Regions from separate parts of the Homo sapiens genome. Here regions 1, 2 and 4 are each linked to region 3. The links are contacts of gene promoters, found by promoter capture Hi-C in blood cells and fetal thymus (Javierre and others, 2016). All regions are on one chromosome and are shown on one strand. Each heading gives the region's core, a stretch centred on a gene start or on the middle of the fragment in contact. The rest is flanking DNA. Distances are from core to core; before and after follow the strand shown.

The links. The method cuts DNA at HindIII sites, captures the fragments that hold promoters and counts their contacts. A CHiCAGO score of 5 or more calls a contact.
Region 1: a contact is called between a fragment that was not itself captured here and the fragment with the promoter of MYO1D in region 3, in 2 of 17 cell types (endothelial precursors and activated CD4 T cells). The highest score is 6.7, in endothelial precursors.
Region 2: a fragment that was not itself captured here is called in contact with the fragment with the promoter of MYO1D in region 3 in 14 of 17 cell types (endothelial precursors, activated CD4 T cells, total B cells and 11 more); the score reaches 13.8 in endothelial precursors.
Region 4: a fragment that was not itself captured here is called in contact with the fragment with the promoter of MYO1D in region 3 in 15 of 17 cell types (endothelial precursors, erythroblasts, megakaryocytes and 12 more); the score reaches 12.2 in endothelial precursors.

Annotation. Positions count from the first base shown.
Region 1 is chr17:32,753,763-32,759,293 of GRCh38, reverse strand. It overlaps MYO1D (myosin ID), which reads left to right. Exons shown (of 22, transcript NM_015194.3): 11 at 3,632-3,802. Among named protein-coding and RNA genes, the nearest start is that of MYO1D-DT, 120 kb to the left of the region's middle. The HindIII fragment of the contact is 1,200 bases long and covers 1,310-2,509 here.
Region 2 is chr17:32,771,448-32,776,989 of GRCh38, reverse strand. It overlaps MYO1D (myosin ID), which reads left to right. Exons shown (of 22, transcript NM_015194.3): 4 at 961-1,126; 5 at 4,148-4,201. Among named protein-coding and RNA genes, the nearest start is that of MYO1D-DT, 100 kb to the left of the region's middle. The HindIII fragment of the contact is 2,134 bases long and covers 2,051-4,184 here.
Region 3 is chr17:32,874,830-32,879,904 of GRCh38, reverse strand. It overlaps MYO1D (myosin ID), which reads left to right and starts at 2,781. Exons shown (of 22, transcript NM_015194.3): 1 at 2,781-3,127. The coding sequence starts at 3,033. It overlaps MYO1D-DT (MYO1D divergent transcript), which reads right to left and starts at 3,050. Exons shown (of 4, transcript NR_184086.1): 1 at 3,012-3,050; 2 at 1,944-2,061; 3 at 1,270-1,605. RefSeq lists silencers at 3,062-3,249, 2,456-3,445. The HindIII fragment of the contact is 7,647 bases long and covers 1-4,074 here.
Region 4 is chr17:32,790,776-32,796,360 of GRCh38, reverse strand. The region is part of intron 1 of MYO1D (myosin ID); the gene reads left to right. Among named protein-coding and RNA genes, the nearest start is that of MYO1D-DT, 83 kb to the left of the region's middle. The HindIII fragment of the contact is 1,419 bases long and covers 1,516-2,934 here.

The sequences.
Region 1 (5,531 bases), core at 660-3,159, 120 kb after region 3:
CATCATGTGTTAAACGTTAGAATACCATAAAACAGTTGCTCAGGTATATTGGCATAAATTTTACCTATCTGCATATAAACCAAAGGGCTATTTTATATAAGAATTATCTATAGTTTGACTTAAATAATGAACTCTCCTAATACAATTAAAATTTAATTCAGTTCAATTAAGTGTATATGAAGCTTTCTAAGAATGAAACTGTTGTATAATATAATACACGGTATAACTGAAGCTTGGATTTTTAATACCAAATTTAATCATAAAACTTGTTATTCAAATGTGATTCCAAGGTACTAGTCAAAAATATCCTTTCACAATCAGAATATCAAATTTCACAGACATAATTGACAACAGGGTAAGTAATGCAGTGGACTGTTCCAAACATCTCAAAAAGAATTAAGAATCCCAAAATGCAAAAAATTTTCGCTAAATAAACCAAGAACTATTTGTCCTAGAGGGAGCAGAAGGCTAACTCCAAGGTAACAGTTACTTACTACATGGCAGATCCCCCCACAATTAGAATCTCTATTCTGGGTAAAACCCCAAACTTCTAAACATAGTGATTCTTTTTAAAAGATTTTTTATTATGGAAAATTTTAAACACACATTAAGAAGACAGACTATAGTACAGTAAACCCTATATACCCATCACCTGGCTTTAACACGTACCAGTTGATTGCCAGTCTTATGCCATCTGTACTATACCCACCTACTCCCAGATTATTTTGAAGCAAATTTCAGATATCACATTATTTCATCTATTCAATTGGGTATCTATTCAGTAAATATTTCCATGTATTTCTCTAAGAGAGTTTTACAAAAACCATAATCACAATGCCATTATCATACCTAAAACATTAACAAAAATTCCTTAATATCATAAAATATCCAGTCAGTATACATGTTTCATATTTCCTTAATTGTCTTCTGGTTGTTGTTTTGCAGGTTAAATTTGGATCCAAATAAGTTTCTTACATTATGATTGATTGATAGGTCTCTTGCATATCTATAGATTTTCTCCATGTTTCTTTTTTTCCTTGAATGATCTCTCTTTGCAATCTTGTGTTGAAGAGAATGAGTCATTTGTTATGGAGTTCCCCACAGTCTGGATTTTGCTAATTGCATTCCTCAGGTGCCATTTAATATGTTTCTCTGTTTCTTGTATGTCCTGTATATTGGTTGTTAGATCTAGAGTCTTGACTGGATTCAGAGTCAGTTTTTTTCCACAGCCCATTTCATAGACTGTGTGTGAACTTCCACCAGGAGGTTCATAATGTCTGGTTATCTGGTACATTCACTTTTAAAAGCTTTCGATGCTGTAGTTTGCAAATCATTTTAACTATTGAGAACTTGATACTCAAGCACAAAGCTGTTTTATCTGGAGTGGGTATGAAAGGCCAGAGCCCCATGTCCCTAAGCTACCCCATCACAAGTCTTCTGGCTCCTGGTATCCCTTAGGAAACCTTACGGGAATGCCAAGTTGCTGGAAGAACTTAGTTTGAAAACTACTGGTTTAAGCAATGTTTGAAGCAGTATTAAACTTACAAACTGAAAGTTACTAGCAGAGACCAATAGCTTTTAATAATATAATTGGGATTTTAGGGAAGGTAATTCTTTAGTCCCTGGGACAAAAGACTTCGTCTTTAATTTCACAGTCCCGAAGTCTAAGATGTCAACTATTAATATAGAGCTCCTGCTTTTTGAGTATTTTTAGGATTTTTTTTCCAAAGATGGAAATAACTTTTCTCCCTAATTAGAAATGTAATAAATGCCCATAATGAAAGTAAATATTTAGACCTACACTGCTTCACCTCAGTACTACTGAGATTTTGTGCCAGATAGTTCTTTGTTGTGGAGGCTGTTCTATGCATTGTAGGATGTTTAGCAGCACCCCTGGCCTCTACCCACCAAATGACAGTAGCACCCCTACCCCATTTTGACTAGAAATGTCTCCTGATATTGCCAAATGTCCCCTGGTGAGCAAAATTCCCCCTATTCCCCTATTTGAGAAACTTTAGTTTAGACAGATCAGAAAAGTATAAAAAACAAAGTAAAAACTACCCAGTTTACAGGTTTCAGTCCATAAGATACAGAAGAGAACATGCAAGACTAGAAATGGAGCTAAAAGCCATGTACAAATAACTGGCATAAAACCTTGGATTTTAAAGCATGAAATGGGAATACATGAGTCACTTGAATGGTCTATTATGAGTATATAGACCTTATAGAAGGTAATGGAGACAGCAATCAGTTTAGGTAACTCCTGCGTAAGATGGGACATAGCAAGATTAAACTGTGTGATCATAAGCTGCCCCTCTTTGAGATGTGCAGCTTGCCTGAGTTGGCCTTTCTTTGTGTGCCTTCTGTGTGTAGTGATAGGTACATTGCAGGCTGTCAGAATAAACAGGTGTGGCAGAGGATTGTTGGACAAACCTTGTACATGTATAGTTGCTGAAAAGCCAGAAGTTATTTATAACTTCATTCACCTTGTGGAAGTAAAGGAAAAGCTTTTTCTTATCTTTTATAGATATTTATTTCTCAGAATTAAATTCTTTATATTATGCCTAGAAAAATGTAAAAATTCTACTGAATTTTTTCAAATTGTTCAAAATTCTATTGAAGCTTTTTAACTTTGGGGAAACCAAAAGAAATGCTCTTTTGGATTTTAGTCATTCAGGGTCATGTAACTAAAAATGCAAGTTCTTTTTTTTTTTTTTCCGTTTTAAGTGGAGTTTATTTAACACTAAGAGATAAAGGGTTGTTAACAAACACAATGACAAATGGACATCTGATTGGGATGAGGCATTATCCTGTACACATAATGTTGATATTTTTGTGTACCCTCAGTGCATGGCATTTACACATAGAGCCACTACTGCACAGCACAAGAGTATCTGAAGAGGCTGAATCAGAGTAAGGCTGTTTAAAAGACTGAAATTTTTTAGTATATATATTCTGCATGAAAACAGAACTTTTGAACTGGCAGGTAGAAGGCAACTCTGCCAAACACTACAGTTAAAGCCCCCACTTTAGTGCACAGTTCCACCCCTTCCATCTGCATGCGTGACACATTAACAGTATTTAAAGGTAAACGAGGCACTTTGTGGCAACTGCAGCCATCGTTATGAACATATTGCACAAAATTTCTAGAACTAAACATTTAACTTGTACCCTACTTTTATAAAATTGCAAGTTTTGTGTAGTACCTTAACTTTATTATGAAGTAGTATATCAGATAATACTTTAAGGTTATTTGTTGGCCCTTTGTGGAAGGTGGACCTTACAGTTAATGGCAGGCAGATTGGTATGAAGGAGTAGGGTTGGGTGTGGGATCTGGAGGCAGGATTAAAATGAGTTTGTAATGGGAGAAATGGTGTCTACCTTATTATCTTTGCCTTGGGCTGTACTAATCTCAGACGGTGTATTTCATGATAGAAAGTTAACAAAGAAATTTAAAAATAAACCTCTGTTAGAATGTGTACTCTTTTTAGCGTAAGACCTCTTTAATGTTATTCACACATTTGACACCAAAGTAGTTTTACCTGAACTCCTGATACAAATGGGAGCATCAGGGTTTAACCTGGCCTGGTCACTGTTCTCTTCAGAATTCCCTCCTTGCTGTGTCCTACAGATTGACTACTTCAACAATCAGATCATTGTTGACCTCGTGGAGCAACAGCACAAAGGGATCATTGCAATCCTTGATGATGCTTGCATGAATGTCGGCAAAGTCACCGATGAAATGTTTCTTGAAGCACTTAACAGTAAATTGGGCAAACACGCCCATTTTTCCAGCCGAAAGGTAATGTGTTTAATGACACCTTCTTCCTTTTATCTGTGAGGTTCTCCTTATTGTTTGATGGAGTTCAACGACTTTATATGTTGGGATAAAAGAATGTCCCCTTTAATAAGAAAGAAAAGTCATAAACATTCATTAAATGATTTGTTGCTGTGGATAAATTCTGCCTCTCTGGTTTATAGTATGAAGAAATTGATAAAATCATGTTAATCCAGGAGAGGGAGCTCCAGACTATGCAATTTGGTAGAAACAGGAAAAATGAGCATGATTCTTTAGAAAGCATGATGTCATTTGTAACCAATAGATGTAGAGTCCTTGCTCATGTGCTAGAATTTTACTCCTGCATCTGATAATTCTGGCATGGAAAATAGCTTTTGTCCTTGACTTTTTACTGTAATCCTCAGTAACAAAATGTGTTGTGCACTCTGCTGTACTTCTTCAGATCATATGACTTCCTTGAAAACAGAGAGATTCTAGTTGTAATTCTAGTTATTACAGAGAAACTTATTCATTAAATAAATGGGTATCCTTTTAACTCTCCATTTTTCAGGATCTAAAAAAGTGATAAACAGATCACATATCTGTAGTAATTGGTGACAATTGTGCTTATCAGACCTTTGTGCTGATATGGACATATCATTTGCATGGAATATTCCATTTGCATGGAATATGTTTGCTATTAATATTTGTTCAAGAAATTTGTGTTAGAAGAGGAACACATCATCATCGCCCCTGAGACTTCCCTACCCATAGTCTTGTCTAGTAACCATATGCTAAAGGGAAAACAGGCCCTTGCTCCTTCACATCCATAGAAAAAGGGGGCAAACATTTCTGCCTCTCCAGAGTTCCATGTAAATCTCTGACACTGCCATTTTTTAGTGTGAATAAAGTCTATTTTCTAACTTATCTCCTTTGAAATTATGTAATCAGAACAGAGAAATTCCACAATTAACTAGCTAAAGCCCAAATCGTCAAGAAATAGATTACTAGCTGACATTTATTTTAGGCCAGTTTTTTCTAAAATATTCTCCTTGGTCTGTTACTGAGGATTGATAGTAACCCTACTACAAATTGGCTTTCAGATACTACAGTCTGCTCTTTCATGTTAGGGTTTTGGGTTAGAGGTACTGCTTCAGTCATTCCCTATTTACACCACAAATACCTAATAAGTGCTTCTCATCTTCCAGGTGCAATCCTAGGTGCTGGGGACAGAGTACTGGGCAAAGTTAGAAGTCACCTAAATAATTTAGAGTGATGCTTTTAAAGATGGCATGATTACATGGGCAAATGTCCTATCTTTGAGGGAAAGTTTATAAATGCCCTTTATAATCACAGTTCAGGTTTGGAGACTCACTTAGCACGGTGCCTACCAGATGGTAGACATTTAATCAGTGTTTGTAAAGTTGAATTGAATTGTTCCCAATCATGTCAAATAAATCTTATTTAAATTTTCATTTAAATTAGCTATGAGTCTCACATGAGAAATCAAATCCACCTCATTTTGATATCTTCTACCTTGGCCATTTATATACCTGAATTAAATGTGTCAACCAAATATTTTGAAATATAATATCATTCCTTTTTTTTTTTTTTCTTTTGAGATGGAGTCTCACTCTGTTGCCCAGGCTAGAGTGCATGGTGCAATCTTGGCTCACTGCAACCTCCGCCTCCCGAGTTCAAGCAATTCTCCTGCCTCAGCCTCCCAAGTAGCTGGGATTACAGGCACCTGCCA
Region 2 (5,542 bases), core at 1,868-4,367, 100 kb after region 3:
GGCGATAAGGTTGAACTCTCCAGTATTAGCGGGAGTAACAGTAGATCTTCTACATCAAGTTATTTCAGAGGCCAAAGTTATTTCTGCAGGTATGCCTGTATAAGAAGAATTTTATCAGTGGAATGAAAACAAGGATATAGCATGAAGTTTAAAATGTATCCATTGGGAGGGACTGCTGTATAGAAAGTTAGCATTCGTCGAATAAAGAATGCATTAAATGGCTGGTACAAAGGAGAAATTCCATACAGCTTCAAAGAAAATAATGAGCAATTTCTGAACTAGTGAAGATTAAATTTATGATGTATAACTAAGTACAATAAAATGTCACAATTCCAGGTTTTATAAGCAAGTGCCTTAAAAATTGTATCATTTTCTGTATCACCTATTCTTTCCCTTTTCAGAACACATCTTTTTAAAAATTTTCTTTATGTAGATAAAATATGTACATTTATAAAATGAAAAACAAAAATTACAGAATTAAGTTGAAGATGTAAAAGTTCCCTGAAATCCTACCTTGCCCATTCCATCAGTCTCCTGTCTAGATAACCATAGTAAGGTGTGCTGATCCCTCCAGATTTTTAAGCATTTGCTGATACATGTGTATGCACACACACACACACGTGAACATACACATACACACACAAGGATCCTGCAATGCATGTTATTTGACAACTTGATTTTATATTCATTAATATATGCTGGACATTTCCATGTGAGTACATATTGATGTACCTCATTCTTTTTAGCACCTGTATAGTATTTCATTATATTGGGAAACAAAAATTTATTTTTATCCCTATTGGTGGACATTAATTTGTTTGTTTTTTTTTTGATATTGCAAACAGTGCTGGAGTTAGCATCTTTGTATAAATATTTGTATGTGGTTTAGCAAAATCCAGTTTTTAAAAAATTCTAGTCTCTATAAGTTTTTATAATGACTTTCATTTATCTGTGTTAAAGAGTGAAGAATATGTTGCTTAAGTCCAACTGTGTTTTGGAAGCTTTTGGAAATGCCAAAACCAACCGTAATGACAACTCAAGCAGGTTTGGAAAATACATGGATATCAACTTTGACTTCAAGGGTGACCCTATTGGTGGGCATATCAATAACTACTTACTAGAAAAGGTAAAATATGCTTAATTTCTGAGGGTAATGTTTTAAGTGCTGAATGTTTAAACAAATTATATTTATAGAATTTATTTTATTGACTCAAAATAGCTTTAAATCCTATTCTCCCTTCTTCATTAGCTTTTTATGATAAGGTATTCTCCTTTTGTCTTCTCTTCTTAGCACTTACACTGTCAAGTTGGAAAAAGTTGTGGACTTTGTAGATAGATTTAGCTATGCGTGTGAATGGGTGGGGGCACAGGTATGAGTGTGTGCCAGCTTCTGGGTAAGGTTTAACCGAAAGTCAATCTAAGACTAATCAGTTCTAGCCTTTTTATACATCACCATCTTCTATACATTTTAATTTTAATTAATTTGATATCTCATTTTCTTCTAGTTTCTATTTGTTCATTGCTTTATAGTAACATATATGTATTTTGTGATCTTACATCCTAATTATGAAGCGAACTGTATTTGGTCAGTAAAAACTTAAAATAGGCCCAATTTCTAGAGGATTCCAATTAGAATTTTCTTCTTGGGACCACCAGAGAGGTTGTGTCTGGTTTGGTTTTGTGTTTTTTGAGACAGAGTCTCACTCTGTCATCCAGGCTGGAGTGCAGTAGCATGAACATGGCTCACTGCAGCCTCAACCCCCCAGGCTCAAGCAATCCTCCCACCTCAGCCTCCTGAGTAGCTGGGACCACAGGCATGGCCCACCATACCCAGCAATTTTTTTTTTATTTTGTAGAGATGGGGTCTCCCTGTGTTGCCCAGGCTGGTCTCAAACTCTTAGGCTCAAGCAGCCCTCCTGCTTCAGTCTCCCAAAGTGCTGGGATTACAGGCATGAGCTGCTGCACCCAGCTGGTTGTGTCTTAACTAATCTTGATTATCAGTGGACATGACTGCAAGAGAATACATAGAGTTCATTTTTACAGTTAAGCTTGTGCTTTATAAAATCAAGTCTCCACCTTGAATTCATACAGATCTAAGCCGACAGGTTTTCTCAGTTAAGGGTTTCCTATCCCAGTTAGGCCATAGCATCCTTTATGGCCATATAATGAAGTATAATCTTTATTTTTGTTTGTTATATTGAAGTCGGACTGTTAAGGAAATAAATGTATTATCAGAGTCAGTTGAAAAAGGACAGGAAATGCCAGGTATTATTATCAGTCCTTTTTCCAGAATGTTTCATCAGTTCACTTTATGTGTAATACATATTCAATCAAAAGGATCCTTTTGAATGAACTCATATTTTGAACCCTCTCCTAACAGCAGTATTTTTGGAACCATCTAAGGCAGAGGTCTCTATGGATTGATCTTGCTCAACTGACTTTTATTACAGGATATAAGGCATTGCTCTTTGAAATGCCAGCAGACCCTGGGGAAAGGAATGTTGAGAATATTCCTCCCTAAGCATTCCTTCCTATTCTCCCCACTTCTAATTCTTACCCCACCCCCAACCACCAAATTCCATCTTTAGGCTCCAGGTTAAAAAAATCAAAATAGCTTCATTCTTCAGAAAGTTTTAGGGACCTCTGTTTTAAGCAATAAAAAGAATTATCAAAGAATTGCAGGGGAAACCCCATAGAGAAGACTCATTCTTAGATGAGTATACAATCCATGGGGGTCTTTAGGATATTTAACTGATTTGGGAGAGGTCGGATAAAGAAAAAGGAGCATTAACCTTGACTATGCCTTTAGCTCCAGCCGCCTCTTTAAGAGGAAATTGTTGGGCAGGTGGGGGAAGGCTAGTCATGGAACGAAACTGTAAGCCAGATCGGGTGTGAGGAGGGGAGGTGATAAAAGGATTATAGGGTGGGAGAGCACAGGCTGAGGAAGAATTGGGACCTGGCTCAGCCTGGCAAGGCACAGCCTGGGGAGGAGGGGAGAGGTCCTGTAGAAAAGGAGGATTCAGAGGACTCAGAGCTTGGGGTGGAGACTAAAGGAACAGACAGGAGAGAAAGAAGAAAGATATGGGACAAGTCGCATTGGGAGCAGAGACTAGGGAGGGACCGATGTGTAAAAGAATGCCTGGACGTCAGGCATCTCAGATCATTTGCCCATTGTACGACAATAATTGTCTAGACCTTGTAGGATGGAGAAATTTAAAGTGCTGTTTTCTGGCTGTTTGGAACCATTGTTGAGTTTGTATTGGGGTCAAGTGGTATTGCAGAAGAAAATAAGGTGTTTAGGTTTTAGGTCAGGTGTGAGTTGAAGAGGTTTTAAGTTCTTGAGAACACAGGCTAAGGGAGAAGAAGGAGGAATGGAGGGTGGAAGGTTGACCATAGTGGAGGAGGCAAGCCCAGAGAAAAGAGAGGGTAGAGACATGGGCCGGGGTCGGGGGGTGGGGGTAGGGAGTGGGGTGGGGTTGGTACTTGCCACCCAGGAAAGTGGTGCTTGCCACCAAGGTGAAGGATCAAGGCAAGTGTCCCCACAGTGATCAGACACCAATGGAGTGTGGGTGAATAATCAGGCAGGCGTCCCTGCAGTGATTAAACACCAAGGGAAGACTGTCTTCCCGAATCCGTGACCGGTGCTGAAGTTTTGTGTTCACAGATAAAACACGTCTCCTCTGTCTCTACCAGAAAAGGAAAGGAACTGAAATTAAGGGAAGGGGGAGATTGAAGGGTGGCGCCGAAATTGAAAGGAGAAAGAGGTTGAGGGATAGTAAGAGAGGTTGGAGAAGAGAGTAAAAAGAGGCCGCTTACCTGATTTAAAATTGGTGAGATGTTCCTTGGGCTGGTTGGTCTGAGGACTTGAGGTCGTAAGTCAGTCTTTCTCACAGAGCAAAGAGCAGGAGGACAGGGGATTGATCTCCCAAGGGAGCTCCCCCGATCCAAGTCACGGCACCAAATGTCATTAGTTAAGGCAAGAATCTGCCATTTTCACTTCTTATGTGATTCTTCAGTTGCTTCAGGCCATCTGGATGTATACGTGCAGGCTTGGGCTCAGAGGCCTGACAGTTCCCTAAGAAAGTGGCTCCTGTTTTATTTTAGGGGCACATTTTCGGGTTAACCATTTTAATGTGTTTTTTCTTAGTCTCGAGTGATTGTGCAACAGCCAGGAGAAAGAAGCTTTCATTCTTTCTATCAGGTTAGTAATCCATTATACAGATAATTGATCATTTGCCCAGTTGTGCAGGAAATGAGTATTTGTGTCTTGGGCTTTCCCCTGTCCTATGCATCACTCATCTCCATTGGCCCCGTAACATGTCACGCATGCACGCACGCACGCACGCACCACATGCCCTGCCCTACCTGCTTAAGAGATTGGATGAACATGACTGTTCCACCCAGCTGGCAGGAGCTTAGCCAACCAGATGACTGCCTTGGGTGAGCATCCCCCATATTTTCTTGCAGTACAGATAACACTTTAATGACTGTGAAAGCTTTTGAAATGGTACATTCTAAATGTTAAATTAATTTTTGTTTTATTTTGAATTGAAGCTGTTGTTTCCATATTTGGGAGTTCTAGAGATCAGAATACAAATTCAGTTTGTTTCACTCATACACACTAAAAGCAATATGATTACTTTTAAAAAAACAATCTGGATTTATAACTTCTAGGGAGGATTGCCTTTTTAATCCATCAAGTTTAGAAAAAAATTTGAGTATTTATTTTCAAGAGTGCTTTTAGATTTTAAAGCAAAATCTTTTAAATAGCCTTCCTGTTGGCAAGTCTTTACACTTAGAAAACAAGTATGATATATTATTGTAAGTTTTTAAAGCCCAAATTAATGTAAATCAAGGTTAACAGAAAGTAACTGAACGGTGACAATACAATTGGATGCAATTCAGTCGAATTCAGTTTCTTCTAGGTAACTGCTTTAATAGACACTACTCATTTGTATATATAAGTTCTGGTATATTAAGTTTAAAAATCAATTTTTAAAATCTGATAATTAGACTTTTTAAGTAAACAAAAGCATACAGTTTAATTTAGAGAATTTAAACCTAATACCTTCCAAAAACATGCTCTATATAAAAGCACTGTCAATATTGTGTTTATGGTTCTGTTGGCAATTTGCCATGTTTTAAATAAGCTATTTTTCTACCAAATATAAAAGAGTTCTGTTTATTTCAATAACCTGTAACTTTTTCCCAGTGTTCTTCCCACTTGGGTGAAAGTATTAAAATTTATCTTTATCCAATACTACAATCATGGTTCCCCAGCTGTCCTCTTTTCCTGAGAGGTACAGATTGATGAGGAAAAGCTGTTTGTTTCCAGTGTGATTCAGCATATGACTGTCTGCTGATGTTTCTTACTTCCGTAGCAATATTGACTTTTTCTAAATTCTGAGACAGAACTATATCCTGTCTATAGTGAGGCTGCTAAGCAAGCAACCACCACAGAGCATAGGATCCTGTTTTACAAATGACGGCATTCAAAGCAAGAAACTTTTATGCCAGTTATATTGTAAATGAGATGAGACAT
Region 3 (5,075 bases), core at 1,532-4,031:
ATCCCAGTAAAATGATCAAGTTCAGAAAAACTAGCATTGATACTATCCTACTATCTAACATCGCGTCTATATTTGAATTTCACCAATTATCCCAACAATGTCCTTTACATTTTTCTGGTTGGAGATCCAGTCCAGAATCACCCATTGCCTTTAATAGTGATGTGCCTCAGCCTCTTTGTCTTTCACATCATTGATATTTTTGAAGAATACAGGTCAATTGTTTTGTAGGATGCCCCTTAATGTGAGTTTGTTTGATGCTTCTTCATGATTAGATTCCATTTACGTATTTTTAGCAGGTAAATGATATGTGTCTTTTTCAGGAGACCATATCAGGAGGCTCATGGTGTCTGTGTGTCTCATGATTGGGGATATAAACTTTTATTTGTTTTATTTTTTGTATATTTTAAACTGTAACAAAAACATGCATCTCCAAATGTGTTTCTATTCAAATTTTATCACAAAGAACATTCATAATGAGCTAATCTGCTCTAGGTTACCTTGACTGAATGCAGACCAGAGTATTCAGTCTCTCCTGCCGGCTGTGCATATACCTGAACTTTGCTCAAGTGTGTCATTGATTAATAATGTTGTAACTGCACATTGGCCTAGAAATGCTGAATGTAAAGTTGTATGGGTAACAAATTACTGCTTAGTTATACAAACAAGAATTTGCTTGACACAGTACAATGAAAACAACATACAAAAGTAAACTGGAATCCTGAGGCTAATAGTGAGCCCCATTGAGCAGATTTGGGTTCATCATGAGAGCATCAATGCCTAATTTTATACTAATTTGGACTTATACAAGAAATTAATAAAATACCCTTTGCATATGTTGTATATGTGTTTTATATGTTGGGTTCCTATATAAGATGTTGATTAAAATGAGGATCTCTTACTTTGGCCATTTGGAAACCACATTGTATCCCACCATAGCTCCTAACCACTGTACAATTTCTGCAACTCTCTCATCATCTGCAAGCCGTGATGTTTCTTTTCCTGGTACCTGGGATTTTGCCCTAATTTTTAACACCTACAGAGCTCAGGGAACACACATATATAATTTACCAAAAGGTTTTGGGGTGTGGTCCCTGGATGCTCCAAAGTGCATACAGTTTGAGATTTCTTTCTTTCCTTCTTGAAGTTCAGTTCTGCTTATGTTAAAACATGCCAATACAAACATTAGGAATACAACCATACCCTATGCAATAACCTACTTAGCCACTGACCGACACCTCCACAAATGACCCAACCATAGGACAGTCCTACCTTATTCCAGAGCTTTTATTCCACAAATGAGGACACTGATATCGAGACAGGTGGATCTCCTCCTTCTGAAGGACAGCTGCTAACGGTAGTCAGATGCAACCCAGCTCTGCTGGTGCCAGGGATTGGGGTGGTTTTCTGATGGCAGAGGCAGTCCCTCAGGAGGTGACAAAGCTCCTTTCCTTTCTCTTAGCAAGTGTGGGTGGCTGGCAGCTGAAGCAGGCCTTGGGCAAGGTCCTTCAGTCTGGTTTACTCATCTCAAACTCAGCCAGAGTTGAAGCCCAGCCAGGTCCTTGGAGGCCTCTAGATTTCCTCGTAGATTTTGTAATAGAAGATGTCCTAACAGAAACACAGGACTGAATAAATGTAGATACCTTAGAAAGTCATTTATTTAAAAAAAATAGCTGGGCATGGTGTCATACACCTGTAGTCCCAGCTGCTCAGGAGGCTGAGGCTGGAGGATTGCTTGAGCCCAGGAGTTTGAGGTTGCAGTGAGCTGTGATTGCACCACTGCACTCCAGCCTGGGTGACAGAGGGAGAATTTGTCTCCAGAAAAAGAAAAAAAAAAAAAAAAGAAAGAAAGTCATTTGTAGTATATTTTCTTTGGGAAAATACATTGAGTTCAAAAAGAATTTTCCAAGCTCAACCAATGTATCAATAAATTGGAGACTACTTACAACTCACTTCATTCCACTGAACCAGTATGGATTTCATATTTATATATGCAAAGTAGTACAATAGTTATTTGGTGGATGCAAAAAGAATGGTCCCATGCTCAAGACATCCGCAATAATCCTGGAGAGATGATACAAAGATATATTAAAAACTTAATAATCATATAAGGTAATGTCTGATGACATGCTCGGATGAGTGGAAGAGAAAATGGGCCACTGAAGAATGGAGGTAGTCAGACGTGGTTGAACGCTGCGGCTCCTAAGTCAAATGACCTGCGTGAAACCGCAGCTGCTCCACTTCCTAGTCGTATGGCAAGTTTCTTAAAAGTTCTCTAAGGCGCTGAGAACAGCTCTGGGCATTTTTGGTGCCCCAAAAATGTTAGCCATTATTATTACCTCTCAGTCTGTGCTTGAACCACCACTTCAAGAATGGGCAGGGTGTGAGTAGAGAGGCGGGAGTGGGTTTTGGAGCAGGGTGACAGAATCATAATGAATTGTCCTCGCGAAAAGCTCCACGAACTACTTTTCTAACTTTGTTGGCAGCTACCAAGTGTGGGCGGCAGGCGGCCATCCTCTTGGCCGCCTGAGATCCCAGCGCCTGTCCCCAGGGGGCGCTGCCACCCAGCTGCCGCCGCCCGGCCCAGCGCGCGTCCCCGCCGCCCACCCGCGCGTGCGCGCCGCCCAGGTGAAGAGGCGGCGGCCAGGGCCGCGGCTGGGGCGGGCTCCTCAGTGGGCCGGGAGGGGCGGAGCCGGGAGGCCCGGGCGGGGCGGAGCCGGGACGAGCCCCAGGCTGGAGGCGGGACCAGCCGCTGCCGTCTCCGTCTCGGTGTCCCGGCCCCTACAGCGCCCGGCAGCCGCGGCGGGAGGAGCGGAAACTGTCGGGTGCGTCCCGTTCGGAGCCGCGCCGGCCGAGAAGGCGCCGAGGAGCAGCGAGGCGGCCTCTGTCCGGCCCGGACCCGCCGAGCGGCGTGCGCGCCCCCTCCCCGTAGCCTCGCGGCGCGGCCTCGCCCCGGCCCCTCCCGAGCTCATCGCGGGCCCACGGAGCGGCCCCGGAGGCCCGAGCGCGCCCACCTGAGCCCCCGCGCTGGCGCCATGGCGGAGCAGGAGAGCCTGGAATTCGGCAAGGCAGACTTCGTGCTGATGGACACCGTCTCCATGCCCGAGTTCATGGCCAACCTCAGGCTCAGGTGAGGGCGGAGCGGCCGCGCGCAGGGGCGCGAGGCTGCGCTTTCCCGAGAGGGGGCGCCTCGGGGCGCGGCCGGATCCGGGGTGTCGGGAGCGCCCAAGCTCCAGGGATGGAGGCGCGGCCGGGCTGCGGTGTCCGGGGGTCTGCCAAGCTCCGCGGCTGCGCTTTCCCGAGAGCGGACGCCCCTGGGGTGCGGCCGCTTTGGGGTGCGGGGGGCGTGTCGAGCTCAAGGGCCGCGCTTCCCTGAGAGGGGAGCCCTGGGCGCTGTCCGGGGTTTAGGTGCAGAGGGTGTGCCGCGCGGGAGGGCGCGCTTCCCCGCGCCAGGTGAGGGATGTGGGCGGGCCGGTGACCTCATGGAAACTGAAGGGAAATAACTTGAACGAGAGTTGCGGTGGCCCCGAAGGCCCTAGGAGGACTGGAGGATTATTTTGGAGAGAGGCTGGCGTCTCATCCCGGCTTTACACTTGCTTCTTTTCTTTCTTTCTTCGCCCTTCTTTTTTTTTTCCTCCTGGCGTAGTTCCATCCTGTCATTCAGGATGCTATGGAGTGATCCCTGAGCTGTCTGTTCCGGGACACTGGCTATTTTTTTAGTTACTCTCTAAACGTAATTAGACACGTTTCCAGACATCGAAGAGACTGCTGTACTTGCCAGTGCCAAGATAAACTGTCTGAATTTGACAAGACGTTCATGGTTTTGGTTTTTTTCAAGGAGTTAGTGGATGGAGCTCTTGTGTTATTAACATCCTTGAGAACGTAGTCACAACTCAACGCCCCAAAATGGGCTTCCAAGATGTGGATTTGTTTTAGAAAGCCCTTTACATGCGATTATTTCACCCTTGATAGAGTAATATGTAAACAGTTTTAAAGTAGTTTGACTTAAACATTAAAGTAAGTGGAATTTCAAAATAGCTGAGTTTTGGTGTGCGTGTGTATGTTTCCCTGCAAGCTTTGGCTGCATTTCTTCTAAGGTTTATAGCTAAACATCATTCCTTAAGCTTATAAAGTGAAAGTCATAATCTAGGCTTGGGTGCTTAACCCTAATTTCATTATTAACTACCCCTGTCAATCCAGTTGACAGGGGTCAATCAGGTTGATTACATACCAGCATAATGATAGGATGTTACATTTCTGATCAAGGTTTGGATGTACAACTTTTATAGAAATCACCCCAAATATTAATCAAAATGATATACCTCTACATCAGCTATAACCAATACCCATTATCATAGTGATTAAGAGTCAGACTGTTGAGATTCAAATTCTAGTTCCACTGCATTCTTGCTGTGATCTTTGAGCAAGTTACTTAACCTCTCTGTGCCTCAGTCTTCCCGTCTGTAGGATTGGGGTTGTCCTGAGGGTTAAATGAATTATTAATAATATGTGTATACATACTTCAAAGATTAGTGCCTGGCAAATCCATATTAGTAAAACTGTTTTAAGTTTTCCCAAGTGCACATAAAATAGATAAAGGGGTAAGTTACATAGCAATTTCATAGATTAAGGTTGTTTTAAATTAAGAGATTCTACTCCTCTCCCCCACAGGAAATAAGTTGTGTGCTTTGAGAAATGCCTTTATAATTTTGTCACTCTCAGTTATAATCATTTCAGTTTTTCAGACATTGGTACATTTATTATGTACATACTGTATACAAGACCATGTAGTAACAGTTGAATATGAAGCCTTTCATTTTAACCTCCATCTTTCACCTCCAGCAAATACATGGGCTTAGCCAGAGCTTTTGCAGAATTTTCAGAATTTGAAATTGAAGGCATAGAGTCTAACAGGGCTACATTAGTTTGTAGGACTACTCCTCTGTAATAGAATTAAAACTCTTGTGGTTTTTAAAAAGTAAATTGAGGGAAGGCACTTAGAATTTCTGCTTTTTTTTTTAAAGCATTAAGTCTCTTAAGTGTGAAGTTTGAATCTCAAAATAGATTACTAAGGTGAG
Region 4 (5,585 bases), core at 976-3,475, 83 kb after region 3:
AATTCATATAATTGTCAATGCCTACTAAAGAGTTTTCTACATCAGGTCCAGGTATCCTTCATTTTCCTGAGCAGTGTTGATTTATAAATAAGCTAACTCCCCAGTTAAGGTAAAATGCAGCTAACTACTTCCCTAGGTATGCCAAGTAGCCAAATGTTACCATAATGGGAAATCATTTCTAAATGGAATGGATGAAAAGGAATAAATATATAAATATTGAGCCCTATGTTGGATAAATTATGTTTATTGTTGGTTGAAAGAGAAAATCAGTGTCATATTATTAATAGGTAATTTTCATTCTCATGTTTTGGTTTAAATCTTCATGCCTGTCATTATTGGACACTCAGCACCGTTAAGGGTCTTGTATCGGTTCGAACCCCGAGAGCGCGCTAACAGACAACATGAGGTGGTGTGAAGCAACATGCTGTTTTAATGAGCACCTGGGTGCAGGCGGGCTGAGGCCTAAAATGGCCTCAGCACCAAGTGAGGACGGGGCAAAGGTTTTATAGTCTCCTGTAAACAGGAAGTGTCGTAGTCTGACGTAACTGCTATGTTGTACCCGGATGGCCTCTTTCTCAGTCTTTAGGAGTACTTGTCTTCAGGCGGACTCTCTTCCTCCTTCTGCTGTCTTGCTGGCGCAAGTTGCTGCCCCAAGTTGCACCTTGGAACTGGGCCTGAGAAGAGAGGAGTTATTCATCTCCTTAAGCTTTCAGGCCCCGGGGAGAATCTTACAAGCACTTCATAGCTAAATAATGCTATGGTGATTTATTCATGTGCTGACATTGTATAGCTTCTTTATTGTATTTTTTAAAAAACTGAATTGCATGAGACCTTAGTAGTTAACGTTTTATGGGAGGAAGCTATTGTGTTTGTTTCTATTATACCAGGAAGGTTGAATCACTGAGGAACTTGGTATGATGAATTCAGTTAGTAAAAAAAAAAAAAAATTTAAATAGAACCCAGATATCTCCTGTCTCTTTAAAATATTTTTCCACTTTTAAATGGGGCAATGAAGTATGTGTTCTCCTTGCCGTGTTTGCTGGCCGTGATGGTGTGGTTATCTGCTTGCTCTCTCCACTGCTGATGATCTGTGTTTGCCATCCTTGGTGTTGTTCACTTTGTGTTCAGGGGATCGGGTTTAATTCTATGAGAGAAAGAAGTGTGAGAAACATCTTCACTTGGATGTCTCTCAGGTGTCTCAAACAGATTGCATAGTCTGTCTGAATCACAGTTGCCTCCTGTCCCTATCCTCATTAATGGAGCATCACGGTCTGCTCAGTAGCTCATGTGAGATACTTACCCTGACACTTCCTTCTTTCTTGCCTCTCATACCCAGTAAGTTACCGTCTCCAATAGATTATATCTCTACTCTTAAAGCCTGTCTACTTCTCTGTCTCTCTACTGCTCCATCCCAACCAGAGAACCCGTCATTCCTTCCTGAGACCAGCGTAGTGCTTCCTAATTGGTCCATTAGCAGGCACTCAATTCCTTACACCCTGCAGCCAAAGGGAAGCTTTCAAAAAAGCAAATGTGATCAATACTTAAAGCTCCACCCTTGGATAAAGTCCACAAGCCCTAAGGCCTTGCGCGCTCTGGCCCTCCTCCCACACCTCTCTCCCTATGCTCTCTCTGCTGTGGTATAGTCACATGCCCTGCTCTGGATTCCTCAAACACTGCTGCTTCCCTCCACCAGTACAGTGCATTCTATTGGCTCTCCCTGGACCTCCATTTAGTGTCTGTCCTTATCATTGCCTGCATTAGGGTGGAGATGAGTCTGCTGTTTATTCTTCTGCTTGTGGCTCCCAGCACAATGCTTGGAACATGAGTGCTAATAACTAATGATTGATTGAATAAACAACTGGATACAAATACAATTAAATACATCAATAACATTTAAAATTAGGCATGCCATAATAAATAAAAGAATTGTGTTTTGAAAAAGCAAGCATCACCTAAAAACGTATATATCAAAAACAGTTGTTTTCCATTGCAGAGGAAAGGTAAGATAATTCATCTAGGCATCTCCTGACCACATCTTCTGGTTAACTACCATTTGTGCAGCTCAAATGAAGAAATATTGCACCAGAAGAAGAAAGCCAAGAAATGAAGTCACAACGTCAGTCATTTAATCCACCACCTGTGGTCCTAACTAGTTCTTATGTCCTGTGGTAAGCCTAAGCAATTTTACTGAAGGCATTTGGCCTTAGAGGGTCCCCATGAACTGCTAGAAGAATGCTTTATAAACATGAAGCCAAGCTGGATCACCGTTCGCTGTGCTAGCAGAAGTAACCCTCACTGTGATGTTAAACAGAAACATAGCACTGATGCCGCATGCTGAACAATGGGTCTCAAGTGGAAGAAAGATATTTCCTGCCATTCTTATGACTTCTGCTATTGCTCATAATAAAAATACGACTTGGTATTATTGTGCTGTTACCATGTACTAATTAGTGTGCTGAGCACTTTATGCAGAGTATCTCACTTCTTGTAACAATCCTCTGAGGGAAAGGTACTATATCAGTTGAAGAAAGTGAGGCACAGGGAGGTTAAACAGCTTCCACGTGATCATAGAGCTAGTCAGTGCTAAACTGCAGCCAGATCCCAGAGTCCACCTTCTTAATCAATACACCCTTTCCTCTGCTATCGATGGGCCTGGGAATACCCATATGCTGCACTGATGGGCTGTGGTGGTGGTTCTTAAGTGCTGTCTTCCAAGTTGTTAATTCTAGGCTTCAGTGTGTTAACAAAAGATCAAAATAAAGCATCCTTTTCCAAATCATTTTAAGAAAGTGTAAACCAAGAAGTGGTTAGAACTGTCTATGTGGAGATTATATAATTGCATAAATAATTCAAATGTCAAGCAATACAATTTTTAGGAAGTCTTCTTTGAAGCCTCCCACTCCTAAAGCTGGTTTAGGTATCCTTCTCTAAGCTTCCATGACATTCTTTCTATCTTTGTTATTGCCTTAAATCTTTTCTGGAACAGAGAGAGAGATTGAGAGACAGAGGAGAATGAGAACAAGAAGGGAATAAGTTTAAAAAAAAAAAAAAAGCCTAGTTTTTAAACCCTCTATCGTTGTGCTTACTGCATAGCATTGTCTATTTATATAAGCCTTTGAGTACAATAATACTATGTCTTATTCTTCTAGTAACTAGTAAGTGTCCATGTGCCAAGTACTATGTCAAGAGCTTGAGTGCTGCACTGGTGGACTGTGGTGGTGCTTCTTAAGTGCCCTCTTCCAAGTTGTCAATTCTAGGCTTCAGTGTGTTAACAAAAGGTCAAAACAAAGCATCTTTTCCAAATCATTTTAAGACAGCTTGAGTGCTCTTGACATAGTACCTGGCACATGGACACTTACTAGTTACTCAGATGTTTATAAATGCACACAATCAGTAACTGGCAGAGCCAGGGTTCAAACCCAGGGCTCCAGTGCTGTATGACTCTAAAGCTCATAATTGGAGACCAAGGTAGGGGGATCATTTGTGGCCAGGAGCTCCAGACCAGCCTGGACAGCATAGAGAGAACCTGTCTCTACAGAAAAATCAAAAAATTGGCCAGGCATGGTGGTGTACACCTGTAGTCCCAGCTATTGGGGAGCCTGAGGCAGAAGAACCACTTGAGCCCAGGAGTTTGAAGTTACAGTGAGCTATGGTCATACCACTGCACTGTAGCCTAAGTGACAGAACGAGACCCTGTCTCTAGAAAAATAAAAACAAAAATAAAATAAAGCTCCTACTCTTTCCAACATATGGTCCCTGTCCATCTCAGGAACACACAGTCTAACAAGGGGATAAAACTAATTGACTCCATCACATGGAAACCATGATTTTTGCCAAGAGAAGCAGAAACAAGATGCTTTCACCCTTGGGAGAGATTCTCATCTAAGAACTGGCAAGGTGGGCTGAACCTTATTGAAAGTAACCTAATGAACATTGCATAAGTGTAGAAAGGGGTCAAAGTTTTGTGTATTTTGAAAATAAAACTCTGTCCTTTCTAAATAGGCCAGTATCGTTGGTTTAAAAACCCACACCCATGAAACAGAAAGTCTCATACATTATAAGCAGAAGTTTAAATTGGTACAGTCTCTTTGGAGACTAATTTGGCAATATAATTCATAAATTTAAATTGCTTATATCCTTTGAACTAATAATTTGAATTCTAGATGTGCGTTCTACAGATATACATACACATATGCACAAAGAAATAGCTACCATTGTATTTATACTTGCATTGTTCATAGTAACAAAACTAAATGTCCAATAGGGACTGATTAAATATATTATTGTATAATCACCCATGAAATGGAATACTATGAAGCCATAAAAAACTCGGCTTTTCTCTATCTACTTACATGAGACTTTTGCCAAGATAAACATTTTAATTAGAGAAAAAAAAATTGCCATTCATTCAAAAACAACAACTAAACTGTTTCTAAATGAATTCACAGGAAACCAGCAGCAGTGGTTGCCTCTGAGGAGGGAAGGTATAGGAAAGAGGAGAGAGAAACACTTTTCACTGTGTATTCATTTACATCTTTTGAGTCTTTTACTAAGAGTCTATCTTGCCTATTCTAAATTAATTAATTAACTATATAAAGAGGATTAGAAGTTGGATTTTTATTATCAACTTCTAATTTTGATATAATTTCAAATTTACAAAAAAGGTAGACGATACTACAAGAAACCCCCTTTTGTTCTTTATCAGTTGTTTACATTTTGCTCTATTTGCTTCTTAATTTCTCTTTGTATATTTTTATATATGTATGTAGTTATTTTTTGTAACCATTGGAGAATAAATTGGAGACATCAGGCCCCTATCATTAAATAATTCAGGGTGTGTTTCTTAAGAACAAGGATCTTCTCTTACATAACCACAATACAGTGATGAAAATCAGAAAGTGTAATTTTGACGCAATTCTGGTTTCTAATTCATAGCTGATGTTCAGATTTTATCAGTTGTCCCAACAATATCCTTTTTTTTTTTTTTTTTTTTTTTTGAGACGGAGTCTCGCTCTGCTGCCCAGGCTGGAATGCAGTAGTGTGATCTCGGCTCACTGCAACCTCTGCCTCCTCGGTTCAAGCGATTCTCCTGCCTCAGCCTCCCGAGTAGCTGAGATTACAGGCACGTGCCACCATGCCCAATTAATTTTTGTATTTTTGGTAGAGATGGGGTTTCACCATGTTGGCCAGGCTGGTCTCAAACTCCTGACTTCAGGTGATCCACCCACCTCAGTCTCCCAAAGTGCTGGGATTACAGGTGTGAGCCACCATGCCCAGCTCATTACTGACATGATTTTAATGCCCATGTGGTCCCAGATGGGTGCAGTGAAAGTCCATTCATCTTGCTCCTGTGTCCTTTTGACATGTGCGTTTCCTACTTTCTGGCTCAACAAGATAGTCCAAGCTCATTTTGTACTTTCCCTGTTCCAGTGATAGAATCCGCTTTTCTTCAAGGAGCCCTGAGTCCTTTTAGTTAAGAAAAATGGTATTTCCAGGCCTTTATCTGGTGTTACTGTTTCTCTAAGTGGACAGAGTTAGGAAATGTGTGTGTGTGCATACCTATTTCTTCCTCTCTCCCTCTTCTC